5 separate regions of the Homo sapiens genome follow, and all the other regions are linked to region 3. Evidence: promoter capture Hi-C in 16 types of primary human blood cells and fetal thymus (Javierre and others, 2016). All regions are on one chromosome and are shown on one strand. The core of a region is centred on a gene start or on the middle of the fragment in contact, and the rest is flanking DNA. Distances in the headings are between cores, read along the strand shown.

Region 1 (2,851 bases), core at 258-2,757, 1.2 Mb after region 3:
ATCAGTACTTCCGGTAGAATGCAAAATAATGAATTATACAGGGAATACAGCTGTCCTTTGGAGCAGTAATAATTGTCTTTTTTTTGGTACAAGAATGTTCACAGCAGCTATTCATAAGAGCCAAAAATAAATAAATAAATAAAGGGAACAGCCTAGGTGTTCATTAACGAAAACTAGATTTAAAAACTGCGATATATTCATATACTTGGAGGACACTTCTTAGAAATAAAAAGGAACAAGGTAATGATCCGTACAACGTGAATGAATCTCGAAACATGCTGAGATGTCTTACAACAAAGAGTAGATATTGTTTGGTTCCATTTATATGAAGTCTTAGGACAGACTGATGGGAAAAAATCAGAACAATAGTTGCCTCTTGGGGATGGAGATTGACTTGGAAATGGCAAGAGGGAACTTCCTGGGATAATGGTGATGTTCTGTCGATAGGAGTTTTGGTTACAAAGGTATATGCACTTGTCAAAACTCAGATAAAGTCTGAGTAATCATCGAATTAAAAATGGATATCATACTATAAAGTTATGCATTATAAGTAATTGACATTAAGATAATTGGTTTTTAGAATATTGTGGCTGTCTCGGAGAGTATAGTTGTGGGAGTGAGTGCAGCAAATGCAACAGGATTATCATAAGAACGTAAGCGTTTGTTTCTATTTTGAGTTAGTCTCCTGGCCTCTTCAGCCTAGTGTTGTTTACCTCACAGAGGCATCAGAGATTTTCATCAGAGAACATGGCTTCCTATTTTTATTCAACTTTGAAAGGTTAGGGGTAGTCTCAGGCATCCTAGCTCAAACTACCCTTGACCCCACTTATAGTGTTTTCTTACTCTTTTTCTTAAAGTTCATCTTTTTTTTTTTTTTTTTGGCCTAACCCACTGGTTCTGAACAGGATAGGGAAGAGGAAACATCTGTGTTTTGAAAAGCATCCCCAGGTGATGCCGACAGGCCGTGGTTTCTGAGAAACACCACCCCATTGTAGACCAGTTAACTTTTAACCGTTCACTAGCAAAAAATTGTACAAGTTCTGCCTCAAACTGAAACCATCACCATTTGTTTTATTCTTCTAAAATTTTTATTTCAGTAGCTTTTGGACTGCAAGTGGTTTTTCATTACATGGACGAATTATATAGTGGTGAATTCTGAGATTTTAGTGCACCATCACCCGAATCGTATACATTGTACCTAATGTGTACTTTTTTTATGCCAGCCTCCTTCCCATCCGCCCCCATCACCATTTATGATGAGACTTTTAGACCTGAGTTTAAGGAAAACTAAATGAAGAAATAAAGGCACTATGCATTACAAAAAAATCAGAATTTTAAGTTTATAAAGTTCCTTATTTATGGGTCACTTAGATATAGGCTTGAAACGAATAAAGGGAATATTTTTTAAAATTATGTACAAAGCCAGAATGTCAATGTATTAAATTACAGTGAAATTTAGAACTTACACAGACTAGAATAGTTACATTGGCATTACCAGTGAACCATTCCTCCCTCTAGGCTATTGATTTGTTCTTTAAAAATGTATTAATTATTGAACACCCGTATAACCATAACCTAGATTTAGCAAATGCTGCCGTAAGTGCATTGTTTATATTTTCTGCTGTATGGTTTCAAAGCAAGTGATAGATGTCATGACACTATCCTAAATACTTCAGCATTTGTTTCTTAAGAATTCCATTTTCACACCTAAGAAAATTAACAGGCGGGTGCCGTGGCTCACGCCCGTAATCCCAACACTTCAGGAGGCCAAGGCAGGTGGATCATTTGAGGTCAGGAGATCGAGACCAGCCTGGCCAACATGGTAAAACCCCATCTCTACTAAAAATACAAAAATTAGCCAGGCGGTAGTGGTGCACACCTGTAATCCCGGCTACTTGGGAGGCTGAAGCAGGAGAATCACTTGAACCTGGGAGGCGGAGGTTGCAGTGAGCCGAGATTGCCCCACTGCACTCCAGTCTGGGTGACAGAGTGAGAACCTGTCTCAAAAAAAAAAGAAAAAAGAAAATTAACAATACGTCTCTAATAGTATCTAATACCTAGTCCCTATTCAGATTTTCCCCTCATTCCCAACATTTCTTTTCAGCAAAATTATGTCTCCTTGATTTTTTTTTTCACTCAAGAATAGCTTCCCTCTTCCCTTTTCATTCCCAATGGCATTGGCTTTTTTAGACACTAACCAGGTGTCTTGTTCCATCTGGATTTGTCAGATTGTTTCCTTGTGGCATCTTCTATTGTTTCTCTGAGTCTGGCCCTTGTATCCCCTGGAAACTGGAAGCTAGACCCTGCATCAGGTTCAGGTCAAACCTTTTTGGCAAAGCTGCTTAATAGAAGGTGCCATGCACTTTGGGTAGCTTCCCATCCAGAGATGTGGCAAGGATGGCAGGTTGTTCCACTGTTGGAGATGCTGAGTCTGACGTTGGCTTAGGATGACAGACAGCTGTCTACCCTCAGCAGAGTGTGCTTTTCCCTCTCAGTCTGAAAGTAATCTGTTTGTGACCCTTTGGCATCAGCTCTCTTGCATCCTGCCTGAATCAGTAGTTTCGTTGGGGTTGGAAAAATGGTGATTTTCTTTTTTTTTTTTTGAAACAGGGTCTTGCTCTGTTGTCCAGACTGGAGTGCAGTGGTGTGATCAGAGCTCACTGCAGCCTCAACCTCCTGGGCTCAAGTGAACCTCCTTCCTCAGCCTCCCCAGTAGCTGGGAGTACAGTTGCGTGTCAACACACCTGGCTAATTTATTTTTTGTAGAGACTGGGTCTTGCTGTGTGTCCCGGGCTGGTCTCAAACTCCTGGCCTTAAGTGATCCTCTCGCCTTGGCCTCCCAAAGTGCTGG
Region 2 (2,700 bases), core at 93-2,592, 1.0 Mb after region 3:
CTTGATTTGGAAGCAGTTGCACACAAAGCATCATTCAGGAAATACATCACTCGCTTTTCAAAGCTGTATGCCACGTTTTAAACAAGGACTTTTGACTCATGTAGTGTTTCTTTTAGTATTTCAGTTTACGTTAAGTTTATGAATCCAGACGTTCGTTTGTACCAGGAGCTAAAGTACACTTATGCATGGGCTTTGCTGTGTATATTATGCTTTTTAAAATCACAGAAATCAGAAACAAAGTTGAGTGAAAAGCGGTGGCGGTGCAGGAGGAGGAACACTTGTGAGCTCCAGCTTATTGGAACTGCCTTTAAGAATTTCACATTCTTGCGGCAATAGTACTTACTTGTAAATTGGCCTTCTTCCCAGGACAGGTTTTGATATTTCTTTTGCATGTACTTCGATGCAGCACTAATGAAGTTGGATCTCAGTAGATCAATTTTATTTACTTTGCTAGATTTGATTCCCACCCCCACACCTCTTTAGAAAATGGACTTTGGCAGGTAAAGAAGGAAGCGGGAATCTGGTATCCTTTTTGGCTTGTCAAAGCTTTGTTGAGCCATGAATAACAAAGTTTTGGCTTTTTAGCTTGTCCGAGTCCCACATGTGAGTTTTCCCATGGGGTAAAAGTAGGCCAAATGAGAACCAAAGTAGAATAACATCACTTTTAATTCGGCCCACTTGTGTGTTACATTCTCCATATATCTTGTTTCTCTCATCAACTTTGAAATTTTTTCATTATTTATTCATTTAGCCACTGATAAAGTACCTACTGCATGCCAGCCATTGATGGCGGGGGTTGCTTCTTGCCCAGTTTTCTCATTTGGAAACTGATCCATGCCTTTATCCCACTAGTTACCCTGAAGTAATTTGAACTTAGGGAGCATTTCTGCCTGGAGACCTGTAAGAATAGGTGTTACGTAGGCACTTAGTCTTCAGATTGGTTTGGGATTTCGTACATTGTAGGCACGTAGCACGCAGGCCACTTAAAAATAAATGTATGTGTCTTTGGGCTGTTGTATTACGAGCTTTGCATATGGGCTTGTCTGGCCGAAGGACCCAGTGTCCGAGGTGGAGGTAGTAGTCAGGGACATGTATTATTCATTTCAGAACACTTGGCACCTTTTCTTGCTTACATTGGGCACTAAAATATTTACTGAATTGACTTGAACAGAAAAATGAAGGATTTTTTATACCAGATTAAGAAATTTGGACTTTATCCAGTCAGTGATACTGAGCTGCTAATTTTAAGCAGGAGAATGTCATGATAACGGGTAAGCATTCCAGAAAGATATCTGCAGCGTCTGGAGGATGGTGGGCTTCCAGATGGGCGATATGGAGACTAAGTTGGAGGCTGTTCTAATGGAGGGGTTAAGTGCTCAGGGATTCTCTATTCAGATTACCTGGGGTGGAATCAGGCTCTGTCATACACTGAAACCTCTTTGTTCCTTAGGTTTGTCATCTCAGAGTTTGGGGGATAGAACTTGAAAAAACATGTCTATTACTTAGAATAGTGATTGCCAGATAGTAAGGACTTAGTAAATGCTAGTGTGCTGGCAGTGGAAGGAGAAATGACGTGGTGTTTAAGAGGTATGACTAGGAGGCTGGACTAGGTAAGTGACTGGGTAGGCTTAAGGAGGGAAGGATGAATCCTGGGTTGTTTGACTTCAGGCATTGATTGACATGTACTGGGTAAGCTGGCTGTGAAATTAAAACGGGTCAAATTCTAATTCTATTACTTACCCTTAGAATAACTATCCTGACAGAACTTTGATTTCCTAACATTTGGGAAATGATTGTCGTACCTGTTGAGTAGGGTTTGAGGAATTATGCATGTAATGCCTTTGGCAGGGTACCTAGCACATTCCAAGTGCTCAGTAAATATTAGTTGTTCCTTTAGATGATGACATTAATGAGCTAGTGGAATGTTGGAGGATATGAGAAGGAGCAGTTAAAAACAATTGATGGTAGAGGTGTAGAAGGGAAGATAAGTTCAGTTTTGGACTAATCTAAGGAGGTGCTAAATGGATGGTTGAGAGATCCATGATGCAGTTGTTGGATAGTTGTGTCTCACAGGAGCTAGGAAAGAATAGAAAAGAAAAAGAGTTCACAGAAAGGCTTTATGAGTATGGTAAGCTTTATGAGAGATTTAGAGGAAGGGGAGGGTGAAGGGGTTCACAGTGGAGCGATATCAGAAGTGTTGACATTGAATATTAGGCATTTCTATCCTTAAAATATATTTTGGCCACCATCAAAGAAAGGAGGACTCCAGGCTCTTGTAATCTGGTTGGCTCTTTGGCCTTCTTCCCCTCTTCTTTCTTTCCTTTACAATTGCCACCCGATATCTTTAAATTGTATTATGAGGAACTATTTAACTTTCCTTCCTGCTTACAGGGCTAGAGTTCACAGGCCCACCTTCCTCTATCCAAATGCATCTAGGTTTTTAAAAAAGAATCACAGGTCTCATTTCATAGGTTCTCCTCTATTTAGGAAGCAGTGTTGTTTGAAAAAGTAATACATATGTATCTTGCATGTAGAATTAGAAGACTGGGGCAGGCCTACCTAAATTGACCCTGTAGGAGGGCCTGAGAGTCTTACAAAAGACATCCCTTTTAGCTTTCCTGGCACCTGTTTCTTTTCCTCAGAAAATACAAAGCAGTAGGAAAATCTGTGGTTAATAAGTTATTTTGTTTGGTTGGATTC
Region 3 (2,731 bases), core at 64-2,563:
ACTTACACTAGCCTACAGTCGGCCAAAATCATCTAATACAAAGCCTACTTTATTAAAAAGTACTGGGTATCTCATGTAATTTATTGAATACTGTACTGAAAGTGAAAAACAGAATGGCTGTATTGGTACTCAAATATGGCCTCTACTGACTGTGTATGGATTTCACACCATCATAAAGTCAGAAGATTGTTGAACCACCAGAAGTTGGGGACCTTCAGCAGAGATGTGTGATTGTTGCTTTCCAAATGTATCTTCTATTACTTCCCTATATGAACATTCTCCTCCTTCTGGACTGCTTTATTGTAAAGTAACAAGGTTTCAACGCACAAAGAAAAGGTGAATTCTGACTTCTGGATTCTGTTATTGTCATTTTTCCCAATTTCCTTCTGTAAAATATCAAGATTAGTACTTGCTGTTTCTAATAAAGGAAGGAGCCGAGAAAGGCAAATCTACGAAAACCTAACTACTAGTTACATTTGAGAGTGCCTAAAAAACTTTTTAGATAACGATTAGCAGTATTTACCAATAGAAACTTTCTAGATTTGGATGGATGGCCTACCAGCAGTACCGATATCAGAGTCTGTGGCAATGGTGACTCAGTGTTCTTCTCAAATACCACAACTTCTAAGTTAAAAAGAAAGAGAAAGTGGTGGGGAGGAGAAGGAGGGAGGAGATATACTAACAATACTGGCAAACAGGGAATAGCAACTGTCTGATTTTTTCCCCTCTAACATCTAGCACACTACAAGCTCTCAAAAAAGTTTGTAGAGCAAAGCTGCGTTACACAAATGCGACCTATAGTTGTGGGCTGTTTACTAGGCAGTTACAAGGGCGGGGGCTGGGGGAGATGAGGAGTCTGAGAGCTCTGGGCTCCCAGAGGTTACCCGTCAAGGAAAGGGTCGCCAGCGCCACCCCACAGAACGTTGCACTTTCACGGCTGCCTTTTCCACTTCTGCGCCAAGTAAGGGGAGGAGGTCTGGGCCTGCTGGGGTCTAAGGGATGGAAGGGCGCAAACCGAGCTAAGAGGAGCAGGATGAAGCCGAAGCACTGCTAGTGGGACTAGTGCCGGGCCCCGGCGACAGTCACGACCCACCCAAACCCCGTGACTCGACAGATTATGGCGCCTGAGGCCGGCCTCAGCCCCACGCTGCCGCCGCCGCCGCCACCGGGGACGGGTTGGGAGGCGACTGCCTGTTTCTGCCGAGCCACGGTCCCGAGCCCGCGTGGAACTCCAGCCGCCCGGGTACCCACTCACCATCTTCCGCAGCTCTGCGAACAGCCTCTCTGCCCCGTTACCGTCAGTCGACCCCGCCGCTCACTTCCGTTTCCGAGGGCTGGCCCCCACATCCGCCGGAAGTGCGTCCGTCCTGGCGAGGAAGGAAGGAGGGCGCGGGACGCCGGAGGGAGCTGCGCGGGGCCGAGGCTCCCACGCTTGCAATCCCAAGGGACCCAGGGCCAAGGGCGCAGTAAGGGTGTGGGCTGGGAGGAGGGAGGGGTCGGGACGAGACGTGCCTGAGGGGAGGGAAGACACGGACTCCGGTTTATTAATAAACATCTACGGTTTGTACGGCATTTTAAGATGTGCAGTGTGCTTTTGTAGGTACATCGCCTTATTTAACACAAAACCTCTCTGAGGTAGCTATTACATTTCACAGAAGGGTAAACGAGGCGTAGGTGGTTTGAGTGATTTGCTTGAGATCGTTCGGCTAATAAAGCAAAATTGGGACACAAGGCTTTTGTCATTTTTAAAAAACATAATATTGAAGGCCTGGTATGTTCCGAACCCTGTGCTGAGGCTAGGAATACAAAAAAGGACCAGGCCGGTGTGGCCTCTGGGCTAGAGGAGCAGGGGTACTCCGGAGGCTAGAGGGGAGAGAGGGGACGATAGTGACTACAAATTAAGTAAATGTGATCATGACCGACATATGTTGGGCCCTTTGAATTGCGTTATCAACACAGTTCTAAGTGCTTACATCCTTTATCTCTTTTAATCTTTTCAATAACCTTACAAGTACAATTTACAGGTGAAGAAACCGAGACATGAAGGGCTTAAATAAATATGCCTAAGGACATATTTATGAGTCTAGAATCCATGCTCATTACACTATTCTGTATTGTTCAAATATAATGTAATAAAACGGCCTTATAGTCTGCTGCCACAGGATGGAGACATCTTAGGGAATCTTTGGACTGACAGCTAAAAGATAAGAGCGAACTAGTTTGGGGTAGTAGGATATTTAAAACAACATTACGTGCAGATCTGCTTGTGCAAAAACGGAACTGGAAAGAAGGCCTAAGTCTGGCTAAAGTTCAGAAAGTAAAGTGGAGAGTACTGTGAGATGAGGTTGTAAGTAGATGGAGGCAAGTGGTTTTTGTTGTTGTTTTTGTTTGTTTGTTCTAAATAATGATAGGGTTTAGCTATGTTGCCCAGGTCTGCGTTGAACTCCTGGGCTCAAGCGATTCTCCTGCTGCAGCCGGCTGAGTAATGGGAACTACAGGCGTGCATCATGGGACCTAGCTACAGGTTTTTTATGCAGCCTTTGTAGGCAAGATTAAGGATGAGGCTTTGTCTTTAAAAAGCCATCGAAGGATTTGAGAGAGGAAAATGATAAGGCCATATATGTTATGTATATCCACTGCCATGGTCATACAACTTTGAAGTTCCAGATGTTATGTGTTCTGCCATGCTGTCCTTTAGGTGTCTTCTGGTCCTTCACAATAGCCATGTTTA
Region 4 (2,798 bases), core at 50-2,549, 1.5 Mb after region 3:
CTGCATTCCCCCCCCAAGCAAGCTTATAATGGAATCACTATGGAAACAGTATTCATGTACCAGAAGTCTATTTTTCACTTAAATTTTGTTTGAATGCTTTTTGTTTTTGAGTGCTTTGAACCCTTGAGGTGAGGCATTTCTGATTTTACAGCTCTGCCTGAATTCAGATCCTCAACCCCACTGAATTAGGGGAACCCAGAAAAGTACCCCATCACGAGTTCAATCAGAAAATATCACAAGCTTTCTAACATAATAATTTATGAAGTTATTCTACTCACTTGAACTACTTTCTCAAATAGGAAAAAATAAAGCTGAGCTGCCAGGCATGAAGAACAGGGTGCAAATATGAATTTTATAAAAGGAGAAAGAGGAACTACCCATGCCAGTAGCCAGCACTGCCTAAGGATTTCTCACAGGGCATTTTTCTTGCTTGCGGGCTTCCTGTCTCTGGTAATATCATCATCACTGCTGGCTTGAGATCCTCCCTATTTTGCAGCTCAATGTGCAGATATTTAGAAGCCTATTATAAATTTATCGCCAACAGGCCAACAGGTTTCGCTCCTCTCCTTCCCCCATTACTTATCTTTCTTCTTAATTCAAAGAGTTAAACATGTGTAATTTGTTCTTTGCCTCTTCATTTTTGTTTAATTATTTTGTCTTTTTCTAAGTTGTGTTTGACTCCGGTGATTCATCCAATATACGTAAAAAGAAACAAACCAAGTGCTTGGGACGCATACCCGGGTTATCTTAACTGTGCAGAGCAGGTTTCCTCCCACTCCGCCCGTAGTTACCCAGATCATCGCCTCCGTTTTCTGTTTAGGCAGCGGGGGCTCGCCGTCCCCTCGCCCGCGGTGGGTGTCGCAGCTGGTCCCCTCCAGGGTTCTCCCAGATCGCCGCCGCCACCCCCGCGCCTCCCCGCCGCACCCCTTCCTACGCGGGGGTCTCTGGGTCCCCGGCTCTAGGACCGCAGGGACGCGGGCAGGAGGTGGCGCCCGCCTTCGGTCCTGCCCTCTGCCGCGCGCGGGGTGGGGACGGACCGGAGTTCCCCGGCTCGCGCACAAGGGCCGCGGAGGGGTTGCCGAGGGGTGGGCGGGGCTGCGCCGCCTGGCCGCGCCGCTGCCTGGCAGGCCGGGCATTAGGGCCTCGGCGGAGCCCGCTCCCCTGTGCGCTGGGCGGGGTGGGCGGAGGGCGGCTTCGCGTGCAGGCGCGGGCCCGGAGGCAGCGGCTGCGCCCTGCGCCGGGGCGGAGCCGGGGGCGGGCCGGCGGCCGGCAGGCGGGGGCTGGGGCCCGAGGCCGGGAGTGCCTGAGCGCCGGCGGCGACGACGGCAGCGGCGGCCCAGCGGGCTCGGTGGTTGGGTCCGCGGCGGCTCGGGGTCCGCCCGCGGGCTGCGGTGCGAGCGGGCGGCCCGGCTCCCCTCCTCCCCCGCCCGCCGCCGCCGCTGTGATTGGGTGGAAGATGGCGCTGGCCGGATGGAAATCCTAATGACAGTCTCCAAATTCGCCTCCATCTGTACCATGGTAGGTGGCGGCGAGCGGGCGGCCGGGGCTGCCGGGACCTCTCGGGCGGGCGGGCGGCGCTGGACCCGCCTCTCCCAGTGGCCGCTCGCGGGGCCTAGCGCCGGGGCGGGCGGGCGGGCTGGGCGGCCCGGGCGGCCCGGGCGGGGGCGGTTGGACGGCGCGCAGGCGGGGAGCGCGGGGGTGAGCGGCCCAGGCGGCTGGGGAGGGGGCGCCGCCTGGTGGGCCAGGGCGGCGCGAGGGTAGCGGTGAGTGGGCGACCGTGCCAGACGCGGCGTCGGGCGGGCACCGGCCTCCGGGAGTCCCCGGCTGAACTGCTGGGGTCCGCTCGGGACGCGGGGACGAGGGCCGAGGCGCGCCCGGCCTGTGCCGGGGTGAGGGGTGGGCGCGCGCGAGCCAGAGCGCGGCCCCGGGCCGGGGTCGTCGGGGAGGGGGCGCGGAGCCGCGCGGGCTCCATTTCCTTCTGGTCGCGCGCCGAGCGGGAGGGGTCCCCGGGAGGGGTGGGGGTCGGCGGGCAGGAAGGAAGGGTCTCGGCCGGGGCGGGCAGCGCTCATTCCCGCCTGGGAGAGGACGGAAGTCAAGTGCAGATTTCCTCGCGCCGCTGGCTGGGCCGAGTCCCCGACCCCGCGCTGGGGGAAAGGGGCGTGTGTGAAGGTGGAAACTTTAAATAAGTACTGTTGAAATTCTCTCCATTTTCTCCTCTGAGAGGCACGAGCTCTCCCGTTTCCAGCCGTGTGTCCAGGTGGCAGTCTTGTCTCTGGGAATGCACGTTAATCTTGAAAAGCAGCATTAGCTTTCCTGTCATTTGTTTACTTCAGCCCACCAGACACATCTGTATGTGGCTGGAGCTAGGTCTGTCTGTGCGGGGACCGCCTGCCAAGGCGATGGTATTTGTTTTCCTAGGGCGTTTAAATAGACTGTAAGGGAAAAGTGCTAATGCCCGCTGGAAGTCCCGAATTAAGCAAAACGTGGGCGCGTTTAAAACTTGGTGTTTTGTGCGTGGCCAGAAGGACCACAGTTTTCCACATGATGAGACAAATTCGTTTCATTAGTTCCTCATGAGCTTATATGTAGGGATCATAATTTATGAGTCATCACCGAAAAAAGTTGTTCTTTGCAACGTGGGCCTAGTGGTTGTTATTAGAGACTTCTGAAATCTTGTGTTTCATGCCTCACTGGCCCTATTTATGCAACTGATTTCATATAGGAGATCCCCAAGAAATTTTCCATCTAAGGGTGGTACATTGTATATATTTTTCTTTAAGGAGTGGTGAATCAGATCT
Region 5 (2,888 bases), core at 276-2,775, 1.4 Mb after region 3:
GCAATGCTTGGCCCGTGTAAAGTGCTCAGTAGTAACCGGCAGCTAATTTATCATTATCTAAGAATTCACCTACAGGCATTTAGAAATTAACCTTTCCTTTGTTTCCCAAAAAGGCCAAAACAATAGTTTTGATAGCTCTTTAGTCATTATAGGGCAGAAATGCCATTCCTGGCCATTACTCCTACCATAAGGTAAAATACAGCAGTCAGGCTTGACGTGTTGACAATATTCTAACACAATTTGGTTTCTAAGTTTACCAACAATCCTTTAAGAATGGCTCCCAAAGTACCATTTTTATAAAAATTGTATAGCAAGAAGACATGTTTCACCTAACTCACCAAAGTCAAACCATTGTTACAATGGATGAACCCTTTAAATGCCAGGTACTCTGTTCCAATCCCCAAAGCCTTTAGATGTGTATAAAGTTCCAAAAACTTGTGCTAAGTTAGTACACAAAGGGTGATACTGTGTAGATTCAAGTCACTTTGTGGAATCACCAAGTGGCATAATCAGTTAACTCATTCCTGATTCCAGAGCCCATAATCCTCCACTAGATCCATCTTTCTGAGTTTGGAATCCATTTTAAGCATGGACCCCATACACTTAAAACTGAAGGCACTTTTCAAAACGATGCTTTACAGTTTGTAAGAGTATTAAAATCATGGCAACTAGGATCCACCATAAAGAGCAACCTGCAGTTTGCTCGACTCTGTTGACGTCCACAAACTAGACAAAATGATGAACTATGGCTAAATGTTTCCCTTCACTCAAAGCATGCTGCCCTAGAATTCGCAAAACAGTATCTCCTCTTGGTGCAAATATTGGTGTTGCAACCTCAAAACACTTTCCCTTCGTCCGATCACCATGTGGGGTCAAAATTTTAAAAACAGTCGGAAATCGTCTTATGCATTAACTAAGGGCAGTGAGGGTTCATCACCCAGGACGACTCCGGGACCCACTCTCCGACCGAGAGCCCGGGTTTTCACACCTGTAGGCTTCACAGAAGATTAAAGCCGACGCCTGACTTTAAACCCATTCCTACTACCCCTTAAGTCCTCACCCAACATCATCGCAAGATTTGGAATAAAAAAGCCACACTGAAAGGAGTTAGAAAGGCATCAGGCCACGCGGCCCCCACACAGCCTATGTGAGAGGGGCCACCCACAGTACCGGAGATGCAGCCACGGGAACATAAAACGAAGTCTTTTAAAGATTAACTCGAGTCGCCTCACCCCAAGCGACTCAGTCTCGTCTTTCTCGCAAATGTCCCCCCGCAGGGCCGCAACATCGCAGTCCGGTTCTCAGCCCACGGCCCAGACCCGACCCGGCGCACGCTGCTCCCCGTCTGGCAGAACATGGTTTAACCCGCCCATGCCAATGGACCTCAAACAGGTTAGAGAGTCTCCCCACGGTCCCAATGAACGACCTCTGAGGCCACAAGGTCGCGGTTCAAGTCTGTCGAACACCTAGCGCCCGGGAGCCACGCGTAGGCCCTACCTGGAAGATGGCGGTTCCGGCCGAAAGGAAAGAGGCGGGGCCGCGGCGCGCGCCTTACAAGGGCCTGTGGGCTGCCCACGGCGCTGCCTGAGGGAAACGCCAACCGTAAGCGACTTCTTTCTAGGGAAGAAGATCGTCTCTGAGAACACAGAAAGTCTGTGAGGATATTTTCCCCTCTTGCGAAAGAAAGGCAACCGGCCAACACAAGCTGACACTTGCATCGTGTCAGACAGCCCGGAAAGGGGCCTTCAAGGGCGATCAAGAGGACGCCGTCGTCCCGAGCGTGCTTACGCCATCCTTTGCGTCACCGCCTTCGCCGGAAGCTGCCTTGTATCCGCGTCTCCGCAGGGAAAACTGCGGCTGGCGGTGCGGGAAGTGCTATTAGTAGTTGTTTATTTGTTTGTTTGCAGAAATAATTGCTTGGGTACGAAGGTCAAACGAGAATGAAGCAAGTATATTATCTAGTTTGTATGTCTTTAAATAGTTTCTCCTCCACACGTCTAAACATACGCACCTGCTAGTAGGTGCGCAAATGTTAAAACCTCTTTGGGAAAGCAATGTGGCAAAATCTAGTAAAAGTTTTCAATTACTAAACCCCAGCACTCTGCTCCTACCTATATGTCTTGTAGAAACTTTGGTAAGTGAACAAGGATGTACGTAACAGCGCTGTGGGTAGAAGCAAAAAATTAGAAACGTCCATCAATAACAGAATAAATACCTTATGGGATGTTAGGATGTAGTATTATACGCCAATAAAAGAAGACTGAACTCAGAAATGTGATGAGGCAAAAAGAGAAAGATGTAGAAAAATAAATAGTATGACAATTCATATACATTCAACTCTAAAACTTGTAAAACAATGCTATATATTGCTTAGTTATGCATACATATGTAGTTAAAGAAGTCAAGAAATACAAGAGAATGAAAATCAAGTTGAGAAAAGCAGTCATATCTGGTAAGGAGGGGACAATAAAGGGAGGCTTTAACTGTATTGACCATTATTAAACCGGGTGTTAAATATATGGGTGGCCATTGTTTTATTCACTACACCTTTAAAAATAGATATTATTTTCTTAATGTAGTTTATTTAAATTGAGATAATGCCATATACCCAGCATCCAGTTTCCCCTATTATTAACATCTCATGCTAATATGGTACATTTGTTGCAATTAATGAACCAATATTTTACACTGTTATTAACTAAGGTTCACATTTTATTCAGATTTCCTTCGGTTTTACCTAATACCCTTTTTCTGTTCCAGGATTCCATCCAGAATACCACATTACATTTAGTTATGATGTCTCCTTATATGCCTCTTGTGGCTGTGGCAGTTTCTCAAACTTTCCTTACTTTTGGTGACCTTGAGAGTTTTGAGGAGTACTGGTCATG

The links. The method cuts DNA at HindIII sites, captures the fragments that hold promoters and counts their contacts. A CHiCAGO score of 5 or more calls a contact.
Region 1: a contact is called between a fragment that was not itself captured here and the fragment with the promoter of POMP in region 3, in 1 of 17 cell types (naive CD8 T cells). The highest score is 5.1, in naive CD8 T cells.
Region 2: a fragment that was not itself captured here is called in contact with the fragment with the promoter of POMP in region 3 in 2 of 17 cell types (naive CD4 T cells and naive CD8 T cells); the score reaches 5.9 in naive CD4 T cells.
Region 4: a contact is called between the fragment with the promoter of USP12 here and the fragment with the promoter of POMP in region 3, in 7 of 17 cell types (total CD8 T cells, total B cells, non-activated CD4 T cells and 4 more). The highest score is 8.8, in total CD8 T cells.
Region 5: a contact is called between the fragment with the promoter of RPL21 here and the fragment with the promoter of POMP in region 3, in 3 of 17 cell types (fetal thymus, naive CD4 T cells and neutrophils). The highest score is 10.1, in fetal thymus.

Annotation. Positions count from the first base shown.
Region 1 is chr13:27,445,228-27,448,078 of GRCh38, reverse strand. The region is part of intron 1 of MTIF3 (mitochondrial translational initiation factor 3); the gene reads left to right. Among named protein-coding and RNA genes, the nearest start is that of MTIF3, 3.9 kb to the left of the region's middle. The HindIII fragment of the contact is 4,271 bases long and covers 1-2,851 here.
Region 2 is chr13:27,617,106-27,619,805 of GRCh38, reverse strand. The region is part of intron 1 of LNX2 (ligand of numb-protein X 2); the gene reads left to right. Among named protein-coding and RNA genes, the nearest start is that of LNX2, 2.1 kb to the left of the region's middle. The HindIII fragment of the contact is 1,587 bases long and covers 549-2,135 here.
Region 3 is chr13:28,657,712-28,660,442 of GRCh38, reverse strand. It overlaps POMP (proteasome maturation protein), which reads right to left and starts at 1,313. Exons shown (of 6, transcript NM_015932.6): 1 at 1,256-1,313. The coding sequence starts at 1,258. RefSeq lists a silencer at 1,381-1,440 and an enhancer at 1,661-1,820. The HindIII fragment of the contact is 5,788 bases long and covers 1-2,731 here.
Region 4 is chr13:27,170,312-27,173,109 of GRCh38, reverse strand. USP12 (ubiquitin specific peptidase 12) reads left to right here and starts at 1,299. Exons shown (of 9, transcript NM_182488.4): 1 at 1,299-1,518. The coding sequence starts at 1,471. It overlaps USP12-DT (USP12 divergent transcript), which reads right to left and starts at 851. Exons shown (of 2, transcript NR_046548.1): 1 at 738-851. RefSeq lists enhancers at 523-712, 2,213-2,322 and silencers at 773-1,412, 1,553-1,602, 1,663-1,752, 1,823-1,892, 1,923-1,972. The HindIII fragment of the contact is 5,306 bases long and covers 243-2,798 here.
Region 5 is chr13:27,250,195-27,253,082 of GRCh38, reverse strand. RPL21 (ribosomal protein L21) reads right to left here and starts at 1,525. Exons shown (of 6, transcript NM_000982.4): 1 at 1,498-1,525. RefSeq lists enhancers at 1,032-1,617, 1,271-1,810, 1,618-2,203, 1,022-2,221. The HindIII fragment of the contact is 8,409 bases long and covers 1-2,888 here.